Linked DNA regions of Homo sapiens: region 2 is linked to region 1. Evidence: promoter capture Hi-C in 16 types of primary human blood cells and fetal thymus (Javierre and others, 2016). All regions are on one chromosome and are shown on one strand. The core of a region is centred on a gene start or on the middle of the fragment in contact, and the rest is flanking DNA. Distances in the headings are between cores, read along the strand shown. Region 1 holds the start of FGF2 (fibroblast growth factor 2). Region 2 overlaps LOC105377407 (a long non-coding RNA gene).

What was found. Contacts are between HindIII fragments. The CHiCAGO score rates a contact against its expected background, and 5 or more counts as called.
Region 2: a contact is called between a fragment that was not itself captured here and the fragment with the promoter of FGF2 in region 1, in 1 of 17 cell types (M2 macrophages). The highest score is 5.4, in M2 macrophages.

Annotation. Positions count from the first base shown.
Region 1 is chr4:122,823,390-122,829,850 of GRCh38, reverse strand. It overlaps FGF2 (fibroblast growth factor 2), which reads right to left and starts at 3,020. Exons shown (of 3, transcript NM_001361665.2): 1 at 2,499-3,020. The coding sequence starts at 2,676. RefSeq lists enhancers at 1,488-1,537, 1,064-1,589, 1,578-1,717, 1,590-2,115, 2,398-2,477, silencers at 2,063-2,357, 2,698-3,177, cis regulatory regions at 3,677-3,715, 3,716-3,786 and promoters at 2,843-3,810, 2,979-4,161. The HindIII fragment of the contact is 8,047 bases long and covers 1-4,160 here.
Region 2 is chr4:124,164,065-124,170,473 of GRCh38, reverse strand. All of the region lies in intron 2 of LOC105377407 (a long non-coding RNA gene), which reads left to right. Among named protein-coding and RNA genes, the nearest start is that of LINC02516, 390 kb to the left of the region's middle. The HindIII fragment of the contact is 1,262 bases long and covers 4,380-5,641 here.

The DNA of each region.
Region 1 (6,461 bases), core at 1,771-4,270:
TACTTAAATTTATGTCCAGGTTGGGCTACATAGAAATAGATGAAATTTGTCATTTTTAGATTTGTATTCTTGTCAGTCTATTGCCTGGTACAGGTATCCTTTAAAAAAAGAGTAGTCTCTTTGGGGACTTGGGAAGAAAGGGTGGGAAGTTGGGGAGGGACAGGACTACAAACTGGATTCAGTGTATACTGCTTGGGTGATGGGTGCAACAAAATTTCACAAATCACCACTAAAGAACTTACTCATGTAACCAACTACCACCTGGTCCCTAAAACCCTATAGAAATAAAAAATTTTAAAAAAATTGGTAGTCTCCACAAGTCTGGATGAGTTATTCTACATTTCCCTTTTAATGTCTTGTCCTTAGCTAGTTATAAAGTTAGCAGAGTTCTCAACCTGAGTACTAGTGACATTTGGGGTCAAAAATGTTTTTGTTGAGGGTATTATAATGTGTATTGTAGGATGTTCAGCAGCATCCCCGGCCTCTACCTGCCAGATGCCAGTAGCACCCTTCCAGGTTACAGCAACCAAAAATGTCTCCAGGCATTGTCAAATGTCCCCTGGGAGGCAAAATCGTCCCCATTTGAGAACCACAGAGTTAAAGTAAGATTACAAAAATGAAAACCCAACTCACAGTTAGGAAGAAAAAGTTAACGGTTGTTTTTACAACGGTGGTAATGTGGTATGCAATTCAAAATTATGTCCACTGGCTAACCTCTACATAGTTTTATTCTAAGGCGAATCGGGTATCAAAATCTTCAAAGAAAAAATGATTCAGCAACTAATAGAGTCTGAAAAAAAAAGAGTATTAGGGGAAGCCCCAAATATTAATTTAATTTAAAGGGAAATTCTTCTGTCTTCTGGTCATAATACATGCTTTTTAATAAATAATTTGTGATACTAGAAAGAACAAAACCAATTGGGACACACAGCACCTTGCCCTTGTCAGCTGAGATGGCGTAGCAGACAACTGCAGAACAAACTTCAATCACAAAGATAATTTTTTGAAATAGATGAGTTCAAGTTACCAGAATAGAGAACTAGCACTAACCCATCTAATAGGTTACAAGCATCTTTTCAGTTTTACGGGATTAAGTGATTGATAAAATTTTTAAATTATGGCAAGCCTGAAAAAAATTAAATACTTGCCTCTCTTGCAGGTTGCTATTTTGGAAGCAATAAAGACTCAGCTCATATGAAAGTGTATTGCCCATTCTTCTGCCAATTCACGTTTGGTTGTAGAATTTTCTTCTCTTCCAGCCCCCCTCCACCTCCCCTCATGACATCCCATTAGCATCCCAAGACAAAGGCAGAACTACAGGGGAGTGGCGCTGGGACCCCTGTGGGTCTTTTCTCAGGCAATGAGAGAATCAGATTCTCCACCTGGAACCCATAAAGGAAGGAACGCCATAACACACAGCTTTTAAAACACATGTTTACATACACTTACAGGAGGACAGGTTACAATATATTCTAGTCCTCTTTCTCTCACTTCAAATTCCATCAGTGTTGTAAATCGGCTCATCTTATGCCCCTTTCTTTCTCTTTCCTCTAGACCAGTGGCTCTCAAAGTGTGATGTGATCAGCATCCCCGGGGAACATGTTAGAAATGCAAATCTTCAGCCCCCACTCCAGACTTAGGGAATCCCCTAAAGTCCAAGCACTCCTTATTTAGGCCAGTGTTCTTTCTAGAACCACAAACATTGTTTCTTACAGAAAGCAAAACTGCAATTCTCATTTCATCCTCAAGCCTGCTGCAAGGTAGTAATATATTAGCCCCACGTGAGCGATGAGGAAACCGGCTCTGGGGTTAAGCGTCGGCTCAAGGTCTCAAAGCTAGTCACTGCAGGTGGAAGATTAAAGTGTTTGCACTTCTTTTCACTACTGAAACAAAGCTATGGCACTTTATTAACAACATCTGGATTTTTTGCTGGTTGGCTGGTTGGTTTTTGTTTTTGCTCTTTCAGCTTTCGTCAATTCGGAAAAATATAAAACAGAGTGGGTGAGAGTAGTGTGCCATATGCCTCGGGTCGTCCCGAGTCGGAATTTAAGGGCAGGACTCTAGAAAGGTGTTTTTCCAGTAAAGACCGTTTCGTTCTGCTGCGGTCCTTCCTGTCTTTGTCCCCGGGACAGCACGCAGCAGATAGAAGCGGCCAGAGCTGCATGGCGGGGCCGCGGGCATCCCCGACGCGACAGGTTGTCCGCGGGAAGACAGCCAGTCCGCGAGGCCCCGGCGCGCCGCGGCTCCGGGCCGGGGGTACTGGTTTACAGGGCAAATTGGCACACCCCAAAGCCCAGGGGACACCCGGGCCTACGCCGCAGCCCGGAAAGGAGGGGGTGAGTGGTGAACCCGAAACCGCCGAGGGCCGCGCGGCCAGAAACCACACGGAGCGCTAGGGTCGCAGTGAAGATCCGGGAGGAGGGTGCAGGCTGGAGGGGAGAGAGCGGGCGAGAACCCACGAAATGGAAATGAGGCGGAGAGAGCGGGTCGGCACTCACTGTGAGGGTCGCTCTTCTCCCGGACCCCGTCAACTCGGCCGTCGGGGTGGATGCGCAGGAAGAAGCCCCCGTTTTTGCAGTACAGCCGCTTGGGGTCCTTGAAGTGGCCGGGCGGGAAGGCGCCGCTGCCGCCATCCTCGGGCAAGGCGGGCAGCGTGGTGATGCTCCCGGCTGCCATGGTCCCTGCGGGGCCCGGCCGGGATCCCCGAGCCGCTGGAGCCGCGCGGGGAGCCGCCGTCCCCCGGCCCCGGCCCCGGCCTCCGACCCGCTCCGGGGCACGGCCCCGGCCCCGGCCCCCCAGCCTCCCGCCCGGCAGCGCGCGGCCGCGCCCGCGGTCCCCCAGCCTCGAGCCGCTCGGCCGCTCTTCTGTCCGCCGGCCCCTGGTGCGCGGCGAGCCGGCGGCCCGGGACCTGGGGTTCACGGATGGGTGTCTCCGCGGACGCCGCCTGGGGAGAGCCGCCTCCCAAGCTGCAGCGCCCGGGATCCCGTTGCAACCGCGGGCACCGCGTCCGCTAATCTGGCACCCGCCGGGCCGCGGCGTCACATCTTCTACATCTCCACCCCCCACACCCACCAGCCTCCCGCGCCCCCAGTTCTCCTCCCTCCTGCGCGCCGCCCCCTACTCGCTCGGGTTTTCTGGGGCCGGCCTCTGAGTTCGGCGGTTCGGCCACAACACGCAAGCGCGCGACATCAGTCCGGCGGGGAGCCCGGCCTCAGTCGGGGGCGGGGGAGAGGCGAGGGGCGGGGGGCGCGCGTCGGAGGCCGCGGCAGGGCTTTGGCATTCCCTGGGCTCCACCGCCCCTTATCCCCCAAAAGTCACCCCCGCCCAACCCCCGCACCACCCAAACCACGTTTAGGCTTTCTCCACACTGCGGGGCTTTTGCTGCGCAACCAGCCGTGACTCAACTTTTAAAAGTTTAAACTCAACTTTCTCCCCCATTTTTTCCCCGCTAGCGTTTCAAAACGGAGAAGCCGTTTCCACCCCAAAGTAGAGAAGTTGCAATCCAAGGAAGAGTCTGTGTCAGAGCAGGCTTTGAAAATCTCTAAATCACCAAAAGACGAGGGGTACAAGTGGGGCATAAACTTTAAAATTAAAGGACAGAGGCTGAAGTCGTCTACCAACAAAAGGAGAGAAAGAGGCCAGAGAAGGGGAGCAGATTGGGTTGCTAAAACGAAAAGGTTTCCTTTACTGACCTATCTTGAATTAGACGACGCAGAAAGATGAGGATGGGGATAAGGATAAATCCTTATCGCGATCGAAGCGCATTAATGTCTTAACTCGGACCTGGCATTTGCCCTAGCTAAATTGTTATGCATTTCTTGGAGAGAGAGTTATTTTCTGTAAATCCCAAATGTAAAATTGAAGTTAATTGCATTTTGGTAATTTTCAGTAGGATATAGCAGGTGCCACAGATGACTAGGAAAATATCTATTCAGAAAACTTGCATGTATTGAGTACCTACTGTGTGCAACACATAATGTTGAGTGTGTGGGAGATGCCAAATCTGATGCCAGCGTCTCACACACTGAGGGAGATAAGATGGGTAGCATGAGTAACACAAATAGCAGTAGAAAGTAGGCCATAGAAGAGTAAGACTAAGTGCTGTGACATTTCAGACATCGGATAACTCAGCGTGGGGAGGCAGGAGATTTGGGGAAGCTTCTAGAAGGAGTTGCAAGTATGGACGTGCCTCCTTGTAGAAACATTAGGTTTCAAAAGGCCATGCATAAGTGCATTTGTTCTTAAGTCTCCAAGAAGGCTTTAACTCCAGATGCATTTCTAGAATGTTACATACAGGAGAATGAGTAAATTCTTTGAAGCTTTAAAACCAGGCATACTGTTTTTATTTTTATTATTTATTTATTTTTTTTAGACAGAGTTTTGCTCTTGTTGCCCAGGCTGGAGATCAATGGCACGATCTCGGCTCACCGCAACCTCCACCTCCTGGGTTCAAGCGATTCTCCTACTTCAGCCTACCGAATAGCTGGGATTACAGGCATGCGCCACCACCACGCAGGGCTAATTTTTTGTATTTTTAGTAGAGACGGGGTTTCTCCATGTTGGTCAGGCTGGTCTCGAACTCCCAACCTCAGGTGATCTGCCCGCCTCAGCCTCCCATAGTACTGGGATTACAGGCGTGAGCCACCGCGCCAGGCCCAAAACCAGGCATATTCTTCTTTCTTCTTGCAGTTGGTATATGTTCTATAGAGGAGGAAAAAAAAAATTTCCCCATTCATTACTAGGTTTATGGCTGAAGCCCCTGTAACAAAAGACACATTAACAAGAGAAAAACATACTAACTTATTTATGTGAGTTTTACACAAAACAGGAGACTTCAGAAATTAAGACCCAAAGTTAAGAGGGAAGCCTGTGTATTTTTAAGGCTAGGATTGATAAAGAAGTGGAAGTCATGGAGAAGTATGATTGGACAAATCTGTGATCTAATGGTAATAAACTGGGGGGACTTACTTAGCAAGGCCTATTTGCTCAGATTCTTTTCCCTGTCCGTGTGTCTTCAGAGATAAGGATGTCTGTTTCCTCCAGGTATAGGGAAGGCACCTCTGGAATGAAGGTCTTATGGTCTGCCTCAGAAGAGAAGATCTGGGGAAAGTGAAAGTAACCCTCTTGCTTCTGCTCTTTTCTTAAGTGCCAAGGTACCATTATTTTTGGGTAGCATGTCCTGAACGCCATCAGTTCTCTAACATCTCTCTCCAAAATGGATTTGTTTCATCTTCATTGAAGATCCGTCTGTTGAGACAAAATCACTCCCTCCAGATGATCTCTGTAGGTGCTACTGTGGTGCTGAGTAGTCCCTAGAATGATTGAACTCTCACTTGAACTCTGTGTCACAGAAACCTGAGGATTCCAGGAGCACGGGGATAAAATCTAAGTCATGATATTTTTTAACAATGGCATCCAGAAACCTGGGGAGCAGCTACACGCAGTAAAATAACTTGTATTCCCTACAATTCAAACAAATAATCTAATTTTCAAATGGGAAAAGATTTGAACAGACACTTCTCCAAAGAAAATATACAAATAGCCAATAAACACATGACAAGGGGCTCAACATCATTAGACATTAGAGAAATACAAATCAAAACAACAATGAGATACTACTTTACACCCACTAGGATAGCTATAATTAAGAAATAACAACAACAAAAAATAATAAGTGTTGAAGATGTGGTAAAAGTGGAACCCTCAAACATTGCTGGTGGAAAGGTAAAATGATGTAGTCAATATAAAAACAGTCTGACAGTTAACTCTAAAATTAAACAGAGTCACCAGACAACCCAGCAATTCCACTCCTAGGTATGTAGCCAAGAGAATTGGAAACATATATTCACATGAAAACATGTACATAAATGTTCATAGCAGCTTTATTCATAATAACCAAAATGTGGAAACAAGCCAGATGTCCATCAAATGATGAATGGATAAATCAATTGTGGTATATCCATACAATGAAATGTTATTTGGCAATAAACAGAAATGAATTACTGATACGTGCTACAACATGGATGAAGCTTGGAAACATTATGCTCAGTGGAAAAAGACAGAAAAGGCCAGGTGTTATATGATTCCATTTATATGAGATGCCTAGGGTAGGCAAATCCATAGAAACAGAAAGCAGCTTAGTGGTTGCCAGGGCTGAAGGAGAGGGAAATGGGCAGTGACTGCTAATGAGTATGGGATTTCCTTTGGGACCTATAAAAGAGTTCCGGAATTAGATAGTGGTGATGGTTATTACACAACTTTGTGAATATACTGAAAACCATTGAATTGAACACTTTAAAATGGTGAATTTCATGATACATGAATTGTATCTTCAAAAAAAGAGAAAGAAAAATAATAGATGTCAAAATGAAAATGAGTTTTTTTCTCCCATAAAGTCGGGAGGAAAAAGATATCATCCAGTGCTATTAAGGATGAGGTGAACCAAAGACCTTATCGACAGT
Region 2 (6,409 bases), core at 3,761-6,260, 1.3 Mb before region 1:
ATTCTGGTTCACTGTCTTTTTGTTCTTATTGGTTTCAAAAAACTTATTGATTTCTGCCTTAATTTCATTATTTACCCAGGAGTCATTCAGGAGCAGGTTGTTCAATTTTCATATAGTTGTGTGGTTTTGAGTGAGTTTCTTAATCTTGAGTTCTAATTTGATTGAGCTATGTGGTCTGAGAGACTGTTTTTTTATGATTTTAGTTGTTTTGCATTTGCTGAGGCATATTTTACTTCCAACTGTGTGATCAATTTTAGAGTACGTGCCATGTGGCACTGAGAAGAATGTATTTTGTGTTGATTTTGGGTGGACAGTTCTGTAGATATCTATCAGGTCTGCTTGAACCAGAGCTGAGTTTAAGTCCTGAATATCTTCGTTAATTTTCTGTCTTGATGATCTTTCTAATATTGACAGTGGGGTGTTAAAGTCTCCCACTACAATTGTAAGTCTTTTTGCAGGTCTCTAAGAACTTGTTTTATGAATCTGAGTGCTCCTGTATTGGGTGCATATATATTTAAGATAGTTAGCTCTTCCTGTTGAATTGAACCCTTCACCATTATGCAATGCCCTTCTTTGTCTTCTTTGATCTTTGCTGGTTTAAAGTCTCTTTTCTCAGAAACTAGTATTGCAACCTCTGCTTTTTTCTGCTTTCCATTTGCTTGGTAGATTTTTCCTCTATCCCTTTATTTTAAGCCAATGTGTATCTTTGAACATGAGCTGGGTCTCTTGAATACAGCACACTGATGGATCTTGACTGTTTATCCAGCTTGCCATTCTGTGTCTTTTAATTGGGGCATTTAGCCCATTTACATTTAAGGTTAATATTGTTATGTATGAATTTGACCCTGTCATCATGAAGCTAGCTGGTTATTTTGCAGACTTGTTGATGCAGTTACTTCATAGTGTCAATGGTGTGTTACTTCAACGTGTTTGTGTAGTGGCTGGTAATGGTTTTTCCTTCTCATATTGAGGCTTTCTTCAGGAGCTCTTGCAAGGCAGGCCTGGTGATAATGATTTCCCTCAGCATTTTCTTGTCTGAAAAGGATTTTATTTCCCCTTCGCTTCTGAAGCTTAGTTTAGCTGGATATGAGATTCTGGGTTGGGAATTATTTTTATTAATAATGTTAAATATTGGCCCTCAATCTCTTCTGGCCTGTAGGGTTTCTGCTGAGAGGTCCACTGTTATTCTGATGGTCTTCTCTTTGTAGGTGACCTGGTCTTTCTCTCTGGCTGCCCTTAATATTTTTTCCTTCATTACAATCTTGGAGAATCTGATGGTTATGTGTCTTGGGTTTCATCTTCTCATGGGGTATCTTACTAGGTTCTCTGGATTTCCTGAATTTCAATGTTGACCTATCTTGCTAGGCCGGGGAAGTTCTTGTGGATGATATCCTGGAGTATGTTTTCCAACTAGGTTCCTCCTTCCCCATCTCTTTCAGGTACCCCAATCAGTCATAGGTTTTGTCTTTTTATATAATTCCATAGTTCTTGGAGGTTTCATATTTCCTTTTTATTCTTTTTTCTCTAATCTTGTTGCCTGTCTCATTTCAGAAAGATGTCTTCAATCTCTGAAATTCTTTCCTCCACTTGGTCTATTTGGCTATTGATACTTGTGGTTGCATTGTGAAGTTCTCATGTTGTGTTTTTCAGCTTCATCAGGTCATTTATGTTCCTCTCTAAACTTGTTATTCTGGTTAACTGCTCCTGTAATGTTTTATCATGGTTCTTAGCTTCTTTGCTTTAGGTTTGAACATGCTCCTTTAGTTCAGAGAAGTTTGTTATTACCTATCTTCTGAAGCCTACTTCTGTCAGTTCATCCATCTCAGCCTCAGCCCAGTTCTGTGCTCTTGCTGGAGAGGTGCTGTGATCATTTGGAGGAGAAGGGCACTCTGGCTTTTTGAGTTTTCAGCATTGTTTCATTGATTCTTTCTCATCTTCCTGAGTTTATCTAGCTTTGATCTTTGAGGCTGCTGACCTTTGGATGGGATTTTTGTGGGGACTTTTTTGTTGATTCTGTTGTTGTAGCTTCCTGTTTATTTTTCTTTTAACAGTCAGGCCCCTCTTCCATATGGCTGCTGTGGTTTGCTGGGGGTCCACTCCAGACCCTGTTCTCCTGGGTCCCTTCTACCCCTGGAGGTGTCACAGTGGAGGCTGCAGAATAGCAAAGATGGCTGCCTGCTCCTTCCTCTGGGAGCTCCATCCCAGAGGTGCACCAACCTGATGACAGTGGGAATACTCCTGTATAAGGTATCTGGTGACCCCTGTTGGGGCATCTTACTGAGTCAAGAGGCACAGGATCAGAGACCCACTTAACAAAGCACTCTGGCTTCCCCTTGGAGGAGGGAGTGCGCTGTGCTGGGGGAGTTCCACTCGTCCAGAGTGCCCGGATTCCTCAGAGACAGCAAGGAAAAAGACTAAGTCAGCTAATCCACAGAGACCATGGCCACTTTTCCCCCCAGGGGCTCCATCCCAGGGAGATCAGTGCCCTGTCCATAAACCCCTGGCTGGAGTTGCTGAAATTTCCACAGCGAGGTCCTGCACAATGAGGAGGGATGCATCCAGGTCAGGCCTAAAGCAATAGTCTGGTCACAGTCTGCCACAGCCACTGTGCTGCACTGTGGGGAATTCCTCCTGGGTTGAAACTGCCCAGTCTCCCAGTATCGGCAGGGGAAAATTGCAGACTGGAGCTGCAGTGATGGTTGCCAGCCCTACCCTCAGGAGCTTAGTCATCTTAGGCAACAGGCAGCCAAAGTGATGGCAGCCACCCCTCCTGCCAGAACTCAGTAGTCTTAGGCAGTCTCAGCCAAGCAGCCACTAAAAATCTGCACAAGTCAGGTTGCACAGATCCATGTTTTAAGCATGATTTCCTGGCCAAGGTAGCACAATCACTCACCACATCCCTTGGCTGGGGGTGGGAGCTCCCCTTGCCCCATGTGCCTCCCGGGTAGGCCATCACTCTATCCTGCTTCTCCTCACTTTCCATGGGTCGCTCCAACTGCCTAGTCAGTCCCAGTGAGAGAACCTGGATACCTTAGTTGCCAGTGCAGGATTCACTCTGTTTTTGTTCTTCTCAATGGGAGCCTCCAAGAGCTGTTTCTAGTCAGCTATCTTCCCAAATTACCTTTTTTTCTTACATAAAAACTCACATTGAAAAACTCACAGTTATCCAAAAACCCCTCAACCAAACAACTATTTATGCTTGTTAAAAGAAAAACTTCAGCTAAAATACATTTAAAGGAGTTTAATTGAGCAATGAACAATTCACAAATTGGGAAGCCCCCAGGATCACAGCAGATTCAGAGAGACTCCAGGGGTACCTCATGGTCAGAACAAATTTAGAGACAAAAAAGTAAAGTGATGTACAGAAATCAGAAGTAAGGTATAGAAACAGCTGGATTGGTTACAGGTTGGCATTTGCCTTATTTGAATACAGTTTGAACACTCAGCAGTGTATCAGTGGTTGAAGTACGGTTGCTGGGATTGGTCAAGACTGAGCTATTGTTACAGGTGCATACTACTAAGTGAGGTTTTCAATCTTGTCTACCTAGTAAGTTACGCTGCAGTTCATCTAAAAGGATTCAAATATAGAAATACAGAGTCCTTCTCAGGCCATATTTAAGCCTCAACTTTAACATGCTGTTAGCATGTCATGTTTGTTCTTTGTTTGTGGAATTGAAATTAGAAATGAAAATCTCTGCCTTGACCTATGCTCATGGAGAAATAGCTACAGTAGAAAAGTCTCTGACCAAGAGATAGCACCCTTAAGCCATCTCAGGACTACAAAGGACTTCTTATTGGAGATGGACATGATTTATCTTTTTCTTAAGTTTAATGCCTCCTCTAGTGCCCAGGAATCTCTATCCTTCCCTCGTAGCCCTTCAAACAGTTTTTTGTCCTTACTCTACAGCAAGAGCAGGATTTTGAGTGATTTGCACTTTCTAGGTTCAAGTGAAACTATTTCAAATAATCCCTGTTTCCATCTCCAAGTATCTGTGGTGCTGGGAAACAAATAGAAAAGACTGAAAATGATGGTTTCCAAAAGCAATCTCCCAATAGTATTCTTCCTCAAAATAATATTTTATAAAATAGGTGGCTATTTATAGGTCCATTTATGTACAGAATCAAAAGGCCTGAGTATAAAAGTAGCTAATCATTTTTGCTTTCCTCCAGCTGAATTATTATTGATATTAATGGGAGAAAAATAAACTGTTTAAACAAGAGTGATCCTCAATGAACAGGGCTAAAGTGAAAAAATAGACAACTTAGGAATTGGATTAATAAAGGCTGAGGAAGATGGATCAAACAAGTTCTAGCTATTGCTCAGAAACAATCCAGATGACTGTTTGAGAATTACAAAGTTCAAAAGAGGAATTCAAGCTTGACCTGTAATAACTTTGAGAAAGGATGTAGAGCAAGCTGACAGCATCATTGTTAGAGAGGGTTGCTTGAATATGGATATGAGACCAAGAAGTTGAATAAGAGAGTTGGCATGGATAGATGGTTGAAAATAAAATCACGTTCCCCTTCAGCAAGTTTCACATGCAAGGAGAAAGGTGTGTGAGTAAAGATAAAGCAGGCTTTTTTCCTTTCCAAAGGGAGATTCTTCTTTGAGAGATCTGCCAGTCTGCCTGCCTGCCTGCCTGAGGTCCTGACTTCTCTAGGAAATTGTTTAGGGTCTGCATTGTTATATTTTGGAAGATTGTCTACATTCTGAAAACACCATGATGGAGTGCTGCCCAAGCACTGAAGAGTGGGTAGTCAGAAGTTGCTGTTCCTTTCCCAGGGTTATTTCTCCACGGGGGGTGCAAAAGTAGCCATTTTCCTTTTTCAGTGGCACTGTGGTTGACTGGACACTTATGACATAAGAACTATACTTCTTTGGCCAAATGCTATTCTTATTTCAAAGTGTTTTTTGAATAGGGCTTGGTCTGAAAAAGGGAGATAGAGAAGTCTTAGTATGAAGAGGCAGTCTGTGTTTTGATCATTCTTCCTATTTCTTGTGCATGGGGTGAGAAGTCTTTTCCTAACAGAAAGTCAAAGGGCATTATTGTTTCTTCCTCATACATCAGTCCCCTACCAAATTGTGTAGAAAATTGGTAGCAAAAGAGAACTGTAGGGGAGAGAGAAGGAAGAGGGAGAGAGTGACATTCTTGTGTATTGTCAAAGACATATATGCGTCGCAACAGGAGGGCGATGATTCCTTTGGGGTTTGAAAGATAAAAAAGGATTTTGGTTTTTTTTTAACATTGAAATATGACTTGTTCTTGAAATTTCTCAGAATACTTTTTAAAATCTTTATTGCTTCACATGTGTCATTTCTGTCCATGTAAAATCACAAGAGTTTCTCTGAATTTTAGCAGACTAGGTAGCACACAGTAGGTCAATAAAACCTTGAAACTTAAGACTACTCTCCAATGAAATTGGTTTTCCTAAGCCACTTATAAATTAAGCAGAGAGAAAATGATTTCACAAGTTTTTACAGACAAGATGGCTTTTCATATTCCATTAAAGCTCTGGTGCTAACATAAAAATAAATTAAAACATATTATATTAATATGTATTGGTTTTTGTTCATTTTTATATATTGAAGGTGAATTGAATTATTACTACATAATAAAACATACATTTTTCAAATGAAGCTTTATTTGTAAGTTTGATGATTAGACTTCTAAATGTGTTTTTGGCTTCTTGCCTTTAAAAATAAATGACTATGATAGGAAAAAAAAGAAAAGAAAAGAAAGTTTATTCTTCTTAAATTGCTTAAAGCAAAGGAACATTTCAACTTTCAATATGAAACATGGCCTGAAAGTTAAAATGAAGAAAGGTGAAGAAAGAGATTGATTTAAAATGATGGTTTAGAATTTATAATTTTGTATTCAAAAACAAAAATGGTAGAAAGAGGAATAGAAATAATGCTTTCGTGACTTTGCTAAGCAAAACTCACACTTCTATAATTACAATTGTAGAAAAGAGTTATTACAAGAAATAATTAACAAAATAAATACAAAATATGAAAGTAATAAATTACTCAAGAGCTTCTGAATAATCCTACAACTAAGGAAGAGTAATAAGAATCTGTTGTCTATCTTAAAAGATATTTTTAAAAATAATATACATGAAAAATACCTGTAACGTACTGCTTTTTAATAGCTTAGAGATGAGTAAACGTAATTTTTAAAATCCGAATTAAATCTTGATAAATTCAAAGTCATTTGCTTTTTTTCTATATAGCTTTTCCCTACTAAATCAGTGTGCTGAAAAATCTATTTCAAGCCACACGTGTATTATTTCCATATCACCTAAGTGAAGTACTTTACAGAATTTTTTTTTCCTTTCAAAAGTTTTTGGAGTACAAGTGGTTTTTGGTTACATTGATGAATTGTATAGTGGTGAAGTTTGAAATTTTAGT